5 separate regions of the Homo sapiens genome follow, and regions 2, 3, 4 and 5 are each linked to region 1. The links are contacts of gene promoters, found by promoter capture Hi-C in blood cells and fetal thymus (Javierre and others, 2016). All regions are on one chromosome and are shown on one strand. The core of a region is centred on a gene start or on the middle of the fragment in contact, and the rest is flanking DNA. Distances in the headings are between cores, read along the strand shown.

Region 1 (2,878 bases), core at 179-2,678:
AATTGGACGTATGTGACCCTCAAATTGCTCTTGTGTAAAACAATGATGACAACAGAACCTAATTCTAAAGAGTAATCCCAGCACTTTGGGAGACCCAGATGGGTGGATCACCTGAGGTCAGGAGTTCAAGACCAGCGTGGCCAACACGGTAAAACCCCGTCTCTACTAAAAATACAAAAATTAGCCAGGCGTGGTGGCGCACACCTGTAGTCCCAGCTACTCAGGAGGCTGAGGCAGGAGAATCGCTTGAACCCAAAAGGCGGAGGTTGCAGTGAGCCGAGGTCACGCCACTGCACTCCAGCCTGGGCGACAGAACAAGACTCCGTCTCAAAAAAAAAAAAAAAAAAAAAAAAAAATTTCAGGGTTAAACGAACTGAGGGTTAAATAATACTCACCGATCAGCCCACAGCAAGGACTCAATGACAGTTAATATCATTCTTTGCAATTATTTTTCTTTGTTCCCATTACATCCTTGACAAACTCAAATCCACAAGCTTCTTTAATACCATCAGATTATCTACACAAAAATACCAGACTCTGGGCAAGGGTGTAAGGTGCCACTTTAGCCGGAATTGCCAAAAAAGGCACCTCCAAATAGGTGACACCTGGACAGATGCCAAAAGGATGTGAAAGGGAGGCCCTGCAAAGTTACAGGGGCAGTGTTCGAAGTAAAAGGAAGTGCAAGGAGAAAGCCTGGAAAATGGAAGAGGACTGCACGGTCAGGTTGGTGGCTCTGAAGAGCAAAGGACCAGGGAAAAATGCAAACAGACAAGGTCAGGGGTGGTTGGCCAGGTGGATGGGGTACGGGCTGGCAGGCAACAGAGAAGGTTGGATTTAGGGGAAGTGTGATGAGATCCCTAGAAGGAAGCATCACTCCTTCAACCACGGACTGAACACCTATCAGAGGCCAACACTGTTGCAGGACTGCGGATAAAGGAAATGACAAGCCACGGCCATTTCTCTTAAATAAACGATGGCGACAAAGAAAAATCCTGTGGCTGTCTTGGCTTCCAGCCTGCCCACGAGGCCTCTAGAAATAGCACAGCAGCAGCAAGGCCGAAACCTCGTCCACTCACCTGCGCCGGAGCCATCCACGCCGCCGCCATCCCGGGAATGCCGCGGATCAGCCGACCACAGCCCTTCTCTGTCCTGGGCGGGGCGACCTCGGCTGACTTTCGCACTCCGAGCCTCAGTTTTCCCCCGAAAAAAATGCGCACAAGGCCCAAGGCGCAGCGTCGGGGCTGAGGAGACGGAGGGCGGCTGCGGAGGCCTAGGCCTCGGCGGGCGCCGGTGGGACACCTCGTTAGGGGAGAAGCGGGGCGTCAGGCTCCCGCCAAGACGCGAAGAAGGGGCGTAACCGCTTCACTACCCGTCCCTGCTCAGGCCGCAGAACGCGCCCACCCAGCGCTCTAGGCCCCACACTGTTTCAGGGCCAAACCGGCCCACGGAGATGACGTCACACGAAGAAGCGGAAGTCCCGCCTCCGCCGCCCTGGCCCGCAGAAAACTCTCCTGTCCTGGGTCGTCAATGGCCCAGAGTCCGCGGCCGACGCAAGGGGCAGTGCCTTCTGGGTAATGCAGTTTTTCCCTTACATCTACCGGGTGTGGGAACTCACCCAGCGCATCCGACTGCACGTAAGTGCGCACCAGAACCCCCGCGTCGTCTTAGGGCCACCGCCTTAGTATAGGCACAAGTCGGAGGGTCGAAAGGTCCCTTCTAGCTCAGGAAAATCGAGGTCAGGAGGCGGGGATATTCGCCCCGATTCAGACCCCGAACAAAGGTGCTTACCCTGCTGTGGGCTGGGCCCGCGACTTCTCGCTTGCTTTGCCTCTTTTCTGGATCTTTTCATAGAAGAAAAGGATAAATGAGCAGTTAAAATAGCCACCCAAAGGAGGACGCCTGACAGTGTGCCCAGCCTGCTGGGAAAGGACAGACCGCCCTCTATTGGGCCTCCTTTGGCCGGGCCCAGCCTTCGTAGGATGCAGGGACTTCCGGGTGATGTAATAGGCTTCGCGTTCGCCACGTGTGGACTTCCCGTACCCTGAGGTGGGGAGGCTGCTAGTGGAGCAGGCTTGCCGGGAAGCCCAGTACTCCCATTTCAAGCATGATCAGTTTGAAACGTCAGTAAGACCACAAAGCGTAGTGCCATATACTCAACCTATGATTCAACATTGGCAGAGGGTTCGAGCGTGGATATATAAATTTGGGAGTTATTACTGTAAACTGTTACTTCAAGTCATGATATTGGGTGAGGCTATGAAAAGAATGAGCGTAGATGGATAAGTGACGGGAAAGAGGGGAACCCTGGCCCAACCCAGCATTAACTGGTTGCAGACAGGAGAGTTTATAAAGTCTTGTTAGGAATTTTAACAATCCTAGACTATGCAAAGATTATATTATGCGAAGTCTTAGGAGTCCCCATCAGTAACTTTTTTTTTTTCTTTTCATGACTATGAAAGTGAGAGAATAAAGTCCAGCTTTCAATGGTTTGACGATATATATGGTTAAGGAAATAGAAAGGTGTGCAGAAAGTACTCTCCAAGAGATTTAATTTTGAGATTGAAAATAGTCAAGGAATGGAGATGGAGTCAATTTCCTACACGATGCGGTACTTTTGGAGAAATATTTTTGGCTAAATTAGTGTGCAAGGAACACTGTTATTCATCACTGGCAATAGTAATTTTTGAAAATTGATAAAGACATCATTCTCTTTTTCACATATTTGTGACTCTTAAATTTTTTTTTTTTTTTTTTTTTTTTGAGATGGAGTTTCACTCTTGTTGCCCAGGCTGGAGAGCAGTGGCACAGTCTCCACTCACTGCAACCTCCGCCTCCCGGGTTCAAGCGATTCTCCTGCCTCAGCCTCCTGAGTAGCTGG
Region 2 (2,878 bases), core at 105-2,604, 1.3 Mb before region 1:
GTAATTCCAGCAATTTGGGAGGCCGAGGTGGGCGGATCACCAGAGGTCTGGAGGTCAAGACCAGTCTGGCCAACATGGTAAAACCCCATCTCTACTAAAAATACAAAAATCAGCCGGGTGTGGTGGAGCAGCCTGCAGTCCCAGCTACTCGGGAGGCTGAGGCAGGAGAATCGCTTGAACCTGGGAGACGGAGGTTGCAGTGAGCCGAGATCGTGCCACTGCACTCCAGTCTGGCAACAGCGAGACTCCGTCAAAAAAAAAAAAAAAAAAAAGAAAGAAAGAAAAAGAAAAACACTGAAATAAAAGCACAAAGTTGGATACAAAACTGCTTAGTGAGCTACAAAGCGATACACTGGACAGAAAGCATTTGCAACCTATCAACCTGTACAGGGTAGCATATAACTGGACAGCATCTGGACTCCTAAGTTTTCCTAACAGTTTTACCTCGGATTCTCCCTGTCTCTCTTCGTGCTGTCATCTTTCTCTAGGTCTTCGAAAACTGTCAATCCATCTTACTGTATCTCTAATTTCTGTCCCTTTTCTCCCTTCTTGTTTCTGTCCCTCTCCCTTCTTGTCTACCTCTTGAGTCTGGATATCTGCATTTCTTGTCTCTGTGAACCCATTCTGCGTTTCCTTCTTTGTGTCTCTTTCATCTGCATCCCTTTCTGATCTGCCTCTCTCTTGCTAACTGTTCTGACACCTGTTTGCCCGGCCCTGACCCTCTGATCCACTCAGCCCTCTTATAACTTGGACCCGTGTCTCTATGTTTGTTCACTTATTTTCACTGTCTCTCCTCGCGTCGAGTCTCCGGTCCTCCCAGTCTGTGAGTCTGTCTCTCTGTCTCTCTCTCTCTTCCTCCCGCCGGTCCTTCGTCTCTCTTTGCCCTTGAGTCTCTGGTCTCTCTCCGTCTCTCCTCGCTGTTTCTATCGATCGGCATCTCTCTGCCCCAGTACCCTTCCCCACCTCTTCATCCCACATGCCCCATTGCATTTTCAACGCCCGCCGCGTCTCCGGGTTACCCAGGCGATGTCGAGTCGTGTCCCCAGGTTACCATGGAGACGTTCAGGGCCCGCCCCTCGCCCATGATCACAGAGGAACGTCATCGCGCCGCGCGCGCACGTACACACGAAGGGCCTGCTGACTACATCTGCCGGAAAGCATCGGGCCAAGCCTTTCTCCATTTTGCGGTCTAGGAAGTAGCAGAGGCCCCTTCCTGTAGGGAGTTGCCATGGAGACGCGGTGGGGCACCGACGGAGTTCTAATGACGGCCGTGATTGGTGCAGGATCCTGCTAATCTCAGGAAGGCCCGTAGAGAAGTGAGGAAAACGTGGTGGGGGGCATGCGCGATCTGGTAGGCGGTGCTGCCGTCTGTTGTACCTGAGAGGCTTGCGCATGCCGACGCACGGATTCGAGGCGGGGAGCATGGGAAGAAGCGGCCAGGAGTATGACCTGATCATTGCGACCACCGCTAGGGGAAGGGAGGAGAGGGTGTAGAAACGGGGACGAGGGTGGGGGAAGGGCAAGGAGGCGCTCGAGCTGGTGCGCGGAGCATCCTGGGAGACGTAGTCCAGCGGGAGGGGGAAGTCGAAGACTGCGCGTGCTCAGGAGCGCGGAGCGGCCCGCTGAGCGCAGAGGTGAGGGCGGGGTCCTCTTAACCGGGAGGGCTATCGTGTGGACGGGGGCGGTGGCTGCAGACTCGGGGATTCCGGCTCCCCAGTGAGACCGGAAGCGCGGGGAACGAATCCGGGCAGTCCTTGCGGGAGCGCCCAGGGCTAGAGCGAGAGGCTTGTCAATCACTACTCGTTGCCACGACGACAGGCTTTGGGAGCCCCGCCCCCGGTTGCCTAGGCGTCGTCTGGACCTACCTTGGCACCCTGGAGCGGAAGTTGCCGCCTGGACTTCTGGGAAGTGTATTTCGGGACCCTCCGTAGGTACCTGCCATCTTGGCTATGACCCAAGTCTCTCCCAGGGTTTCAGGTTGACTTGGCACCTTGAAGAGTGGAGGCTTGGCCCCCAGGATGAGGCGGCCCTCGAAATCGATGCCACCCACGGGGGAATGATTCTGCGGTGCCATCCCCTTCATAAACGCAGATTCCTTCCTAAAGCCGCAGCTGCAGAAGGAACAGCGCGAGGAGGGAGGTCAGCCCCACTTGCAAATGGGGAAACAAGTTCTCGAAGGCACAGTGATCTGAAGATGGGCGGAATCAGAGTCTCGGGACTTCCTTGCAGGCTCCTGTTCCGGCAGTCTTGGAGCCTTTGCCGCCCCCCCACCCATTGCGAAGCTCCCCCATCCCCTTCCAACCCCAGCTAAATCAGGAAGCTGAGATGGGGCATTGCGTAGTGTGATGTTGGGCTTAGAAGATGGGGCTGAGTAGGGAGAGAGGGTGCTGCCTGGGAGCTGAGCCATACAAGTGACTGCACAGGTTGACATGGAGGATTAGGTGGAGTGAGGCTTCCAAGCAGGGAGGGGAATGATGGTGGGGCCCAAATGAGGAGCCACATCGAAGTAGATGAGAGAATAGAAGGTGAAGTAAGGGCTGGCGTTGGGTAGGGGGAGACGCCAGCAGTGATGCTGATGCCCAGGCTGTAGGTGTATAGGTGCCATCCACCTGGTAAAGAGAGAGCTGTAGCGCAGGAATGAGGTTGCACATGTAGAAGAAGGGAAGGATACAGGGGAGAGAAGTGTCTTCTAGTCCTAAAAAACAGCCTGTGGGCTGGCATGGTGGAACAAACCTGTAAGTCCCAGCACTTCGGGAGGTCAAGGTAAGAGGATCATCTGCTTGAGCCCAGGAGTTCAAGAACAGCCTAGGCAACATAGTAAGATCCCATCCCTACAGAAAAATTAAGAAATTAGCCGGATGTCGTGGCACACACCTGT
Region 3 (2,878 bases), core at 194-2,693, 1.2 Mb before region 1:
TGGGACTACAGGCGCCTGCCACCGCGCTCGGCTAATTTTTTTTTGTATTTTTAGTAGAGACGGGGTTTCACCGTGTTAGCCAGGATGGTCTCGATCTCCTGACCTCATGATCCGCCCGCCTCGGCCTCCCACAGTGCTGGGATTACAGGCGTGAGCCACCGCGCCCGGCCTTTTTTTTTTTTTTTTTTTTTTTTTTTTTTTGAGACGGAGTCTCGTTCTGTCGCCCAGGCTGGAGTGCAGTGGCGCGATCTCAGCTCACTTCAAGCTCCGCCTCCCGGGTTCATGCCAGTCTCCTGCCTCAGTCTCCCGAGTAGCTGGGACTACAGGCGCCTGCCACCACGCCCAGCTAATTTTCTGTATTTTTAGTAGAGATGGGGTTTCACTGTGTTAGTCAGGATGGTCTCGATCTCCTGACGTGATCCACCCGCCTTGGCCTCCCAAAGTGCTGGGATTACAGGCATGAGCCACTGCGCCGGGCCATGAGGTCTGTTTTCTTGCTGGCTGTTGTTGCAGCTCTTCTCAGATTCTCAGCATGACACCTGTCCTGTTGCATTTCCTCTCATGGACCTCTCTACCTTCAAAGCCTCTGGAACCCTTCTCCTACTTCAAGTTTCTCCACCTTCCTCTTCTGCCTTTAAGGACCCTTATGATACCTTGGACCTACCAAAATAATCCAGAATCATATCCTATTTTAAGATCAGCTAATGAGTAACCTTAATTATTTCCGCAAAAACCCTTTCACCATGTAGTGTAACTATTCATAGGTGAGATAATCATATTTACAGGTTCTGGGGATTTGGGCACGGAAATCTCGGAGGGGGCCATTTTCGGAATTCTGTCCCCCATACCAGATTGACTTGCAATGTCCCAGAATCTCACAGGGTCTAGCTCAGGGGAGGCCCAGAGCAGGGTGAGGCAGTTGTCTATTCCTGTCTGCGTTGTAGTAGAAGGTGCCAAGGCCGAGATGGGGTCCTTTCCCCAGTCCCACCCACAGCGGGCGGGCCTGGAGCGTCTGCAGTAGTGGTAGCTTGCTTGCACCTCCTGGCGGCCAGGGACCGAGACCTACTTCAGCTCTCACCCGTGTCACAGGAATAAGGCCACTTCCCCGGTTCGCAGTGGGGTTTAAACTGGCCAGAACACGTTGGGCACTTGGGCCGGGAACTGCCTTCCCATTCTGCATCACAGGGAGCTTGCGGATTGATCGCGCAGGCCCGCCACACCCCTGATCTCCTGGGCGACGCCGGAAGAGTGCTCTGGTCCAGACATTCCTCGCGACGCGGCAGCCCTAGCCTCTTCGACTTTGGTTCCGACTAAGAGGAGAGCCGGAGTGCAGACTGGCGGGAGCTGATCGCCATAAAAATACCGGAAACGTGCTTCGGCCTAGGGTTTCCCCTGCGCCGCCGCGACCGCAGGCCTCCGTTCCGCCGGGGTAACGGCCCGGAAGTGCGGCCTTGTAGTCGGTCAGGAGGAAGCGGCCACGGCAGAGCCTGGTGCCTGAAGAGGAGTCGGAGGTGGGGTCGAATGGGCATCCCCCTGCCGCAGGGCGGGCGAGGAGGCTGGGGCGTGCCAGGGGAGGGGCACCTGCGCTCCGCTAGAAGCGCACGCTGAGAACGCGAGGGGGCGCTGCAGGACCGGGGTACGGCGGGGGCCAGAGTGCGGGGTGGCAGCGGCGGGTCAGAGGGGTGCTTTGGGCGTAGGGTGGGGCGCGGGCAATGGAGCAGAGTATGGGAGAACGCGCTCGGAGTAAAGCACACGGCGCGGCGAAGGCGTGGCGGGAGTGTGCGGCGCCGGACCCGGGAAGCTGGCCTGGGCGCCGGGTCTCGAGTGCAGGCCTTTGTTCTGAAGTGTCCAGGCCGGCCTTGCGGCGTCGGGACTGAGGAATGGAGCCCGTCGCGGGGCGGGGCGGGAAAGGAAGGTTCAAGTCTCTCGGGTTGATGCGCAAGTTTCCGTCCCCATCGGCCGGACAGATTAGAATCCTTTCAGGTGCTAGGTGAATACAGATGGGGCGGTGCTGCTTGCTGAGTTAGCCTTTGCGCGGGCACAGGCCTGGCTTTTTTGAGGCATTGCACAGAAGGCTCAGAACAGGGCCAGGGAGCGGGGTGGTGTATCCGGATCCGTAGTCTGGAAAAGCTCCCTCTGGCTGCCGTGTGGGGAACAGAAGGGGAGGCGAGGGGCGCAGAGACACCAGCCAGGTTTCTTCATCCGTCCAGGACAGCGGGAACGGGGCAGTGGAGGTGCTCGAAGTGGTCTGAGGGTCAAATGTGGGGCATGCAAAAAAGGGAGGCGTCTGGCTGAGCAAAGGGACGGCGGATTGGGCATAAGGAGTCGGAGGGGTTGAATCTTGAGACCCCAGTAGAGCCCGAGGGTGTAGGGGCAGCATCAAGCCGAGCCCACCCTGGGGCTTTGTGACTCCAAGGGAGAGACAGGCTGGTGGAGCCTATACGGATGTCAGAGTCCAGAGCTCCTACCCTCCTCCCTTAGACTGGAGGTGTGTGCAGTCTGGGTGCGGGATGAGCCGAGTATCTCATCCCTTGTTTGATAGAAGGGGAAACAGGCCGAAGGATCACGGTTTACCTGCTTGATGGATGGAGTAGCAGAACTCCTCAGATTCCAGAGTCCTCTGAGGACTACCCCCTCCCCTTTCTGGTGCCTGATGTTGGGCCGTGTCCCCGATTACTCCATGGGCAGCTATCCAGTCACACACCCCTGCTCAATCCACACTTCCCCTCTCTGTGCCACACCCACACCCTGGGCCCCACAGGCCCCATCGAGATGGCAAGAAGCTGGGGCTGCAGGAGCCACCTCCCTGCTCGCTATGCTAGGGGCTGCCAGGGAGCATGTACTGGTTTCCCTGGGGCATCTCCCAAGGTACTGCCCA
Region 4 (2,878 bases), core at 375-2,874, 1.2 Mb before region 1:
GCCTCCCAGGTCCCCATCCCAGACAGGGACATCCACATTCACTTCAGGAGTCCCAGCCTTGACACACCTCTCCTGGGACTCCCACCCTAGCCAGGAATGTCCACACTTCCTCCAGGAGTCCCTCATCTCTGGTGGGACCCCAACCTCACCCACTTCCTGTCCATCGACATTGGGCTCCTCCTTCACACTGCAGCTGAGCTGGACAGACCCCTCTATTCTGGTGTCCTGGGGACCTTCCCCAGGGGACTCCACTGTCCCTGAGGGGTGGGGGCTCCCAAGTGGTTCCTCTGTCTTCTGGGCTGCAGGGAGCACCTCCTGCTTCAGGACATGGGCTGTGATCTGAGGAGAAGAGGTAGGTCACAATGGCTCTAGCCAGGGTCTATCCCTCCAAGAAGCTGATGCCAGCCACACTCACCCAGCCCAACAGTTGCCCAGGGTCATGCTGCAGTCCTTCGACTAGGGCAGCGGCCTCCTCAGGACTGCCTGGCCGCTGACCGCGCACCCAGGCCTGGATCTCGGGAGGCAGTGTGCCCAGGAACTGCTCCAGCACCAGCATCTCCAGCATCTGCTCCTTGGAGTGTGCCTCAGGCTGCAGCCACTGGCAACACAGCTCACGCAGCCGGGCCAGGGCTTCTCGGGGACCTGCCACCTCCTGGTAGCAGAACCCTCGGAAGCGGAGGCGGGCAGTCTCAGGCTCCTCAAGGGTGGTCTCTGGGTCCATGACGGGCAGGCATGGGGGACCCAGAGGGGATGGCATTCTTGCTCAAGGGGGTGGTCTTGGAATCGTCAAGATGGGCCTACAGAAAAGGAAGGGTCGGAATGTCAGCCAAGAGAATCTGGCCAGGGGAAGGCAGACACCAGGCTCAGCCCAGGGGGCTGAGACCAGGACCAAGTGTACTCTGAGGCCAGAAGAGATAAGGCCAAGAAAGCTTCATGGAAGGAGGAGGGTCACAGGACCCAAACAATGATGGCAAATGAGAGCAGGAGGAAGCCTCAGGGACAAATGCTTGGACGCAAGGTGTCCAGGGAGCTTCCTGGAAATTGCAAACAGTTGGGTCCAGCAGGGGACTGCTGGGAGATGACGCTAAAGAGGTGGAGAAAGACAGTCATCACAGAGTTCCAGCGCCAGGCTGAGGAGCCACAGTGTCTAGCCGAGGTGCGAGGAGAGTGGACCAGGGTGGGCGGGTAGAAGGTGGGGCCAGGCTGTAATGTACGGGGACGAGTCGCCCTCCACAATCTCGGGGAGGTTGACTGGGTGGGACCTCCTTTAGGAATGGCTCTGGGGAGGGGGCACGTGGACATCGTGCTCGCTGACCACAGCGAGCCGTGGGCGACTCACACTGCCGGGGCCCGTGCATGTGAAAACGAAAAGCAAAGGCCAAGAAAAACGGGGCCAAAGCTCCACGTTGCGCGGAGTCGAGGGATGGCCACAGCATCCCGGCCCTGAAGGTCTGCAGTGAAAGACGCCCACCTGGACGGGCCTGAGAGACCAGGCCTGACACCCGGCCTATCCGAGGGATGCTCGAACTTCGGGATCTGTCCCCAAAAGGGGAAGGCAAGAGGGAGGCGTTCCAAGAGGACTTGCCAGGCCCGGCCCCCCGGAACGGCGTTGAGGGTAGGAAAGGCCTGAGCGAAGGCTGAGGTGACGCGCGCGGCCTGTCGGGAAGTGGGCGGGCCCTCCAGGGCGCCGACAGCAGGAGCCGTTCAGGCCCCAGAGGGCGACCCCAAGCCCTCCCACGGGGTGGAAAGGCTGCGCCCACTCTGGCAGCCTGCGCTCACCTCAACCCGGAGCGGTTGCTTGGAGGCCGCTTCCCGGATGTGGCGCCGCACAACGCGGGGCGCCTCAGCCGGGTGTTGCCCCGGCGACGCCGCGCTGACCAATCTCTCGCCTGCACCGAAGGCACCGCCCATGCCCTTTGAACTACATTTCCCATGAGCATCAGCAAGACAGGCGCGACCGTGACCCGCTGACCCGCATTTGCAGCAGCCTCTGACGCCTGAGAGGCGCTCTGTTCCTCTAGGAGGTACGGCAGAGTCCCAGGGTTATATGGTCTCCCTCCGCTCTGAGAGCAGCTCTTCCCGGGTTATAAACTTGCGCGTCTGTACAGTGGGCCGGTTTCTATTGGCAGGTGAGGGGAGGGGGTTTTGCCCAATCAGAGGTGGCGCTTGCTTGGCCCCGCCGCCCCCACGCCATTCCCCGGGCCAGCCCCTAGATAACGCTAGGGCATATCCGCCCGCCTCCAGCTGTTCCCGTGGCAACGTTCAGGAGCGTTGCCTCGACTTCCGAAGAGGCTGGAAGTGGCGGCCCAGTGGTTTCCTAGGTCGAGTAGTTCGCTGGGACTCGCTTCCAAGTGGACCCGGGAGAGGCGGTGGTGTAGAAGACCACCCTGAGCCTGGGCTTTCTCCCGCCAGGAGGGTGCGAGGGCCATCTTTGACCTCTGTTAAGCGCCCTAAGGAGGTACCGACGGTTGTGACCGCAGTCTCTGACGTCTTCAGATGTCAGTCCTACAAAGTCGGGGGTGGAGGTTTCCCTCCAGGCTGATCGGACATGCTCAACCGTTTATTTACCTTTGAATTTGGGGAGCAGAACTAGCCAGGGTGACACTAGTTTCTCCCAATAAGCAGTGTTACAGTTTTCTAAATCTGTGGGGTCAGTTTTGCTTCCACACTTAAAAGTGGCCGAGCCATTACTTAGTCAGTCCTAAATTACACCGCCTGTTTTGGTTTCTTTGGATACCTGGGAATCCCTGCTGCCTGCTCTGGATGAAGAGCAGTGGTCTTGATCACCGATTGGAAGCACCGAGCATGTGCGTGGATGAGACTTGTCAACTCGGAGCTTTCCAACGGCCTCCTCAGGTTGTTTTTGGGGATGAGGTGC
Region 5 (2,878 bases), core at 101-2,600, 1.2 Mb before region 1:
TCCCGCCACCACACCTGGCTAATTTTTTTGGATTTTTAGTAGAGACCGGGTTTCACTGTGTGAGCCAGGATGGTCTCGATCTCAGCGCTCCCGCAATTTCTTTCCCACATTGCTGCCACCCTCTCCTATTCAGCCACCTGCCGAACTCCTCCCCTGATAGCCTCAGGCACCCCAGCCGGTTTTCTTTACCCTCAAGCTGTAACTCCGCACGCCTGACTGCTCATCGCCTTCTTCAGTCCAGTTTATAGGCCCTGTCCTCAGCCCAGGACACCAACAACGTCAGGTCCAGTGACATGACCAACCTGGGACATCCCAGACTCTTGATCTTTCCCCTGAAGGAAACCTGCTTTCCTTTCAATTCTCCTTTCTATCTACAGCAGCTCTCTTCTTCCAGGCGCTCAGGCTGAACAACATGGGGTACTTAGTTCTTCAAACAGCCCACACCTGATGCATCCGCAGATCCACCAGAATTCACCTGGTCGCCCACCTCCACTGCTGCCCAGACTGTGGCAGTCGGTTCTTCCCTTCATGCCGACACCCCTGCATGTCTGTTCTCCACGCAACAAACGGTGGAACCGTTTTAAAGTCCCAACTCAGAGGATGTCCTGATTCTGTTCAAAACTTCTATGTCTCCCGACGCCCTCGAGATAAAGCCCACTCCCTCGCCTGCTACTGCAGCCGCACACATCCCCTCTACTCCAGCTCCACATCGAGAGCGCTCAGTCCCAGAAGCATCTGGGCTTCGGCTCCCCTCCCAGGTTTTGCACACGCAGGACTCTCCCCTCGGAGCCTCCTTCGGGACCTCAGCCCCCTGGCTGCCGGAAGTCGGGAGCTCACCAGTGCCCTGGACGCAGGAGTTTGCACTGACCCCCGCAACCCCCCCAGGGCAGGGAGAGGAAAGACGACTAGGCGAGGTCTAGGAAGCGGCCTCACTCCGTGGGGGCGCAGTCTGTGTGAGCAGGGACTCCCCCGCCCCCCCGGCGCGGGCTTGTCAGCGCCACCGCCGCCAGCGGAACCCGCAACTGGGAGGGAAGAAAGGCATGGACCACCCGGGACCGCCATCCCCGCCAGCAGCCTCCCGCGGCTGCCCCGCGCCTCAGCCTGCCCGGCAGTCATGGGCGCAGAATGCCCAATGCGCTGCCTCCTGGGCTTCCGCGGGGCGGGAGAACGCGTGGTTCCCGCCGGGGCCCGACCGCCCCCGGGCCGACCACGTCATACTCGAAGATACCGAGGCTTGGGGGCGCGGCCGGCTGCTCGTGGTCCGTACCTTCCTGGCCGCCCGCCTCGGGCCCCGACCCGCGCGCCACAGCCCAGACCACCGGTGTGGCCTGACGCGAGCAGCCAAGTGACAGTCCCAACGCCGGAAGTCCAGCCCCCAGAGCTCACATTGCCCCAATACGCGCGCAGACGCTTGCGCACAGCCTTCTGGGTTATGTGGTTCCTGCCTGTTTTTCGGCGCGGAGGCGGGGCCATTACCAGTCTCCATGGCAACGGCTAAGCGCCGCCGCGCTGGGCGCCTGGAAATGGAGTAGCGCAGCTGCCGCGGGTTTCCAAGGGCTCCGTGGCACTGGTTGAGTCGCCCGGCAGGTTGTCCCGCGTTGGGGATTCCCAGTTCCTGGCACCCACCTAAGCAGCCCTGGAGACTAAACCCTGCAGGTGTGAAAGCAGAAACTGCGGAGGTTCCAGAAGGCAACACCAGCAGGTAGCAGGGAGGAGAAAACGCACCGGGTAGGGCAGGTGTAGGTGGAGGAGCAGATGCCTGGAGCTCCGGGTTCCCTTCCCAGCTTTGCATCTCACTGACTGTGCATCCTGGGCGAGGGTTTGATCTCTCTGTGTGTCAGTGTCCCGTAAAGGTTTAAGGTCCGTTTTTCAACCTCTACACCAAGAATTCTCAGCCTGTAATGACACTACCCGCTTGTCATTTGTCTTGATTCTGTGATTGTTCTTGGACGCTCGCCCAAAACTTGTTTTCCTTGTAACTTGGACGAGCAGAAGGTAATTCCCCAGCCTTGCTTGTCCTTAGACCATCTAGTTCTTGCTTTGCCCCACACATCACAACATGGATGCTTTGTTCCTTTTTTCTCTGGACCAATCTAAGTGTCTTTGACACATAACAACAAAAGGCAGGGCAGTCTCAATGTAGACTGACCATGTTGTTGGCAGAGAATAAACGATTCTCTCTTTGTTGCTTCCCTGTGAGGGTCTTGTTTTTAGGATCCTTAGACAGTTCTCAGATGTCAAGTACGTTAATTCATTTTGTCTTCCTCTATACCCACCTCCATCTATAAATATCTGTCTACTGTCAGCTATAACTGTCCACAGAATTGATTCTACTTGTAGATCCCTATAGTGTAAGATAGCTCGACAATTTTTGAATGTTTTTATTTAAATTTTTCCTGCTTTGAAAGAATTTAAGAACACTTAAGTACTATTGTGATTTAATCAAATGCTTAGAGGCATTATTAACATTTCAAGCAATTTTTTTTTACTTTTTTTTTTTTTTTTTTGAGACAGGGTCTCACTCTCTTACCCAGGATGGAGTGCAGTGGTGCATACTCGGGTCACTGCAACCTCCGCCTCCCATGCTCAAACAGTCCTCCAACTTCAGCCTCCCAAGTAGCTGGAACTACAGGCAGGAGCCACGATGCCTGGTGTATTAGTCTGTTTTCACGTTGCTGATAAAGACATATCTGAGACTGGGTAATTTATAAAGAAAAAGAGGTTTAGTGGACTCATAGTTCCACGTGGCTGGAGAGGCCTCACAATCATGACAGAAGGTGAAAGGCACGTCTTACATGGCAGCAGGCAAGAGCAAATGAGAGTCAAGCAAAAGAGGAAACCCCTTATGAAACCATCAGATCTCGTGAGACTTACTCAC

What was found. Contacts are between HindIII fragments. The CHiCAGO score rates a contact against its expected background, and 5 or more counts as called.
Region 2: the fragment with the promoter of MZF1 here is called in contact with the fragment with the promoter of ZNF460 in region 1 in 6 of 17 cell types (activated CD4 T cells, fetal thymus, total B cells and 3 more); the score reaches 8.2 in activated CD4 T cells.
Region 3: the fragment with the promoter of ZBTB45 here is called in contact with the fragment with the promoter of ZNF460 in region 1 in 4 of 17 cell types (neutrophils, total CD4 T cells, fetal thymus and 1 more); the score reaches 9.5 in neutrophils.
Region 4: the fragment with the promoter of ZNF446 here is called in contact with the fragment with the promoter of ZNF460 in region 1 in 5 of 17 cell types (fetal thymus, neutrophils, naive CD8 T cells and 2 more); the score reaches 10.8 in fetal thymus.
Region 5: the fragment with the promoter of ZNF324B here is called in contact with the fragment with the promoter of ZNF460 in region 1 in 2 of 17 cell types (neutrophils and non-activated CD4 T cells); the score reaches 10.5 in neutrophils.

What each region holds. Positions count from the first base shown.
Region 1 is chr19:57,279,035-57,281,912 of GRCh38, reverse strand. ZNF460 (zinc finger protein 460) reads right to left here and starts at 1,428. Exons shown (of 3, transcript NM_006635.4): 1 at 1,077-1,428. The coding sequence starts at 1,106. ZNF460-AS1 (ZNF460 antisense RNA 1) reads left to right here and starts at 1,579. Exons shown (of 3, transcript NR_136529.1): 1 at 1,579-1,634. RefSeq lists enhancers at 1-66, 995-1,586, 970-2,169, 1,587-2,178, 1,293-2,232 and a silencer at 523-572. The HindIII fragment of the contact is 6,066 bases long and covers 497-2,878 here.
Region 2 is chr19:58,571,811-58,574,688 of GRCh38, reverse strand. It overlaps MZF1 (myeloid zinc finger 1), which reads left to right and starts at 1,354. Exons shown (of 6, transcript NM_198055.2): 1 at 1,354-1,634. MZF1-AS1 (MZF1 antisense RNA 1) reads right to left here. Exons shown (of 6, transcript NR_027334.2): 4 at 2,734-2,831; 5 at 1,866-2,111; 6 at 1-1,772. RefSeq lists enhancers at 980-1,409, 1,470-1,559, 928-1,787, 1,788-2,649. The HindIII fragment of the contact is 12,442 bases long and covers 1-2,878 here.
Region 3 is chr19:58,518,375-58,521,252 of GRCh38, reverse strand. ZBTB45 (zinc finger and BTB domain containing 45) reads left to right here and starts at 1,443. Exons shown (of 3, transcript NM_001316979.2): 1 at 1,443-1,511. RefSeq lists enhancers at 1,159-1,478, 2,536-2,878 and a silencer at 1,569-1,668. The HindIII fragment of the contact is 4,202 bases long and covers 1-2,878 here.
Region 4 is chr19:58,475,098-58,477,975 of GRCh38, reverse strand. It overlaps ZNF446 (zinc finger protein 446), which reads right to left and starts at 1,624. Exons shown (of 7, transcript NM_017908.4): 1 at 1,472-1,624; 2 at 416-797; 3 at 150-339. The coding sequence starts at 757. It overlaps ZNF324 (zinc finger protein 324), which reads right to left. Exons shown (of 4, transcript NM_014347.3): 4 at 2,540-2,878. RefSeq lists enhancers at 1,366-1,565, 1,720-2,014, 1,836-2,085, 2,326-2,385, 2,446-2,535. The HindIII fragment of the contact is 6,419 bases long and covers 932-2,878 here.
Region 5 is chr19:58,450,094-58,452,971 of GRCh38, reverse strand. ZNF324B (zinc finger protein 324B) reads right to left here and starts at 1,350. Exons shown (of 4, transcript NM_207395.3): 1 at 1,268-1,350. RefSeq lists silencers at 911-1,340, 1,318-1,644. The HindIII fragment of the contact is 9,897 bases long and covers 1-2,878 here.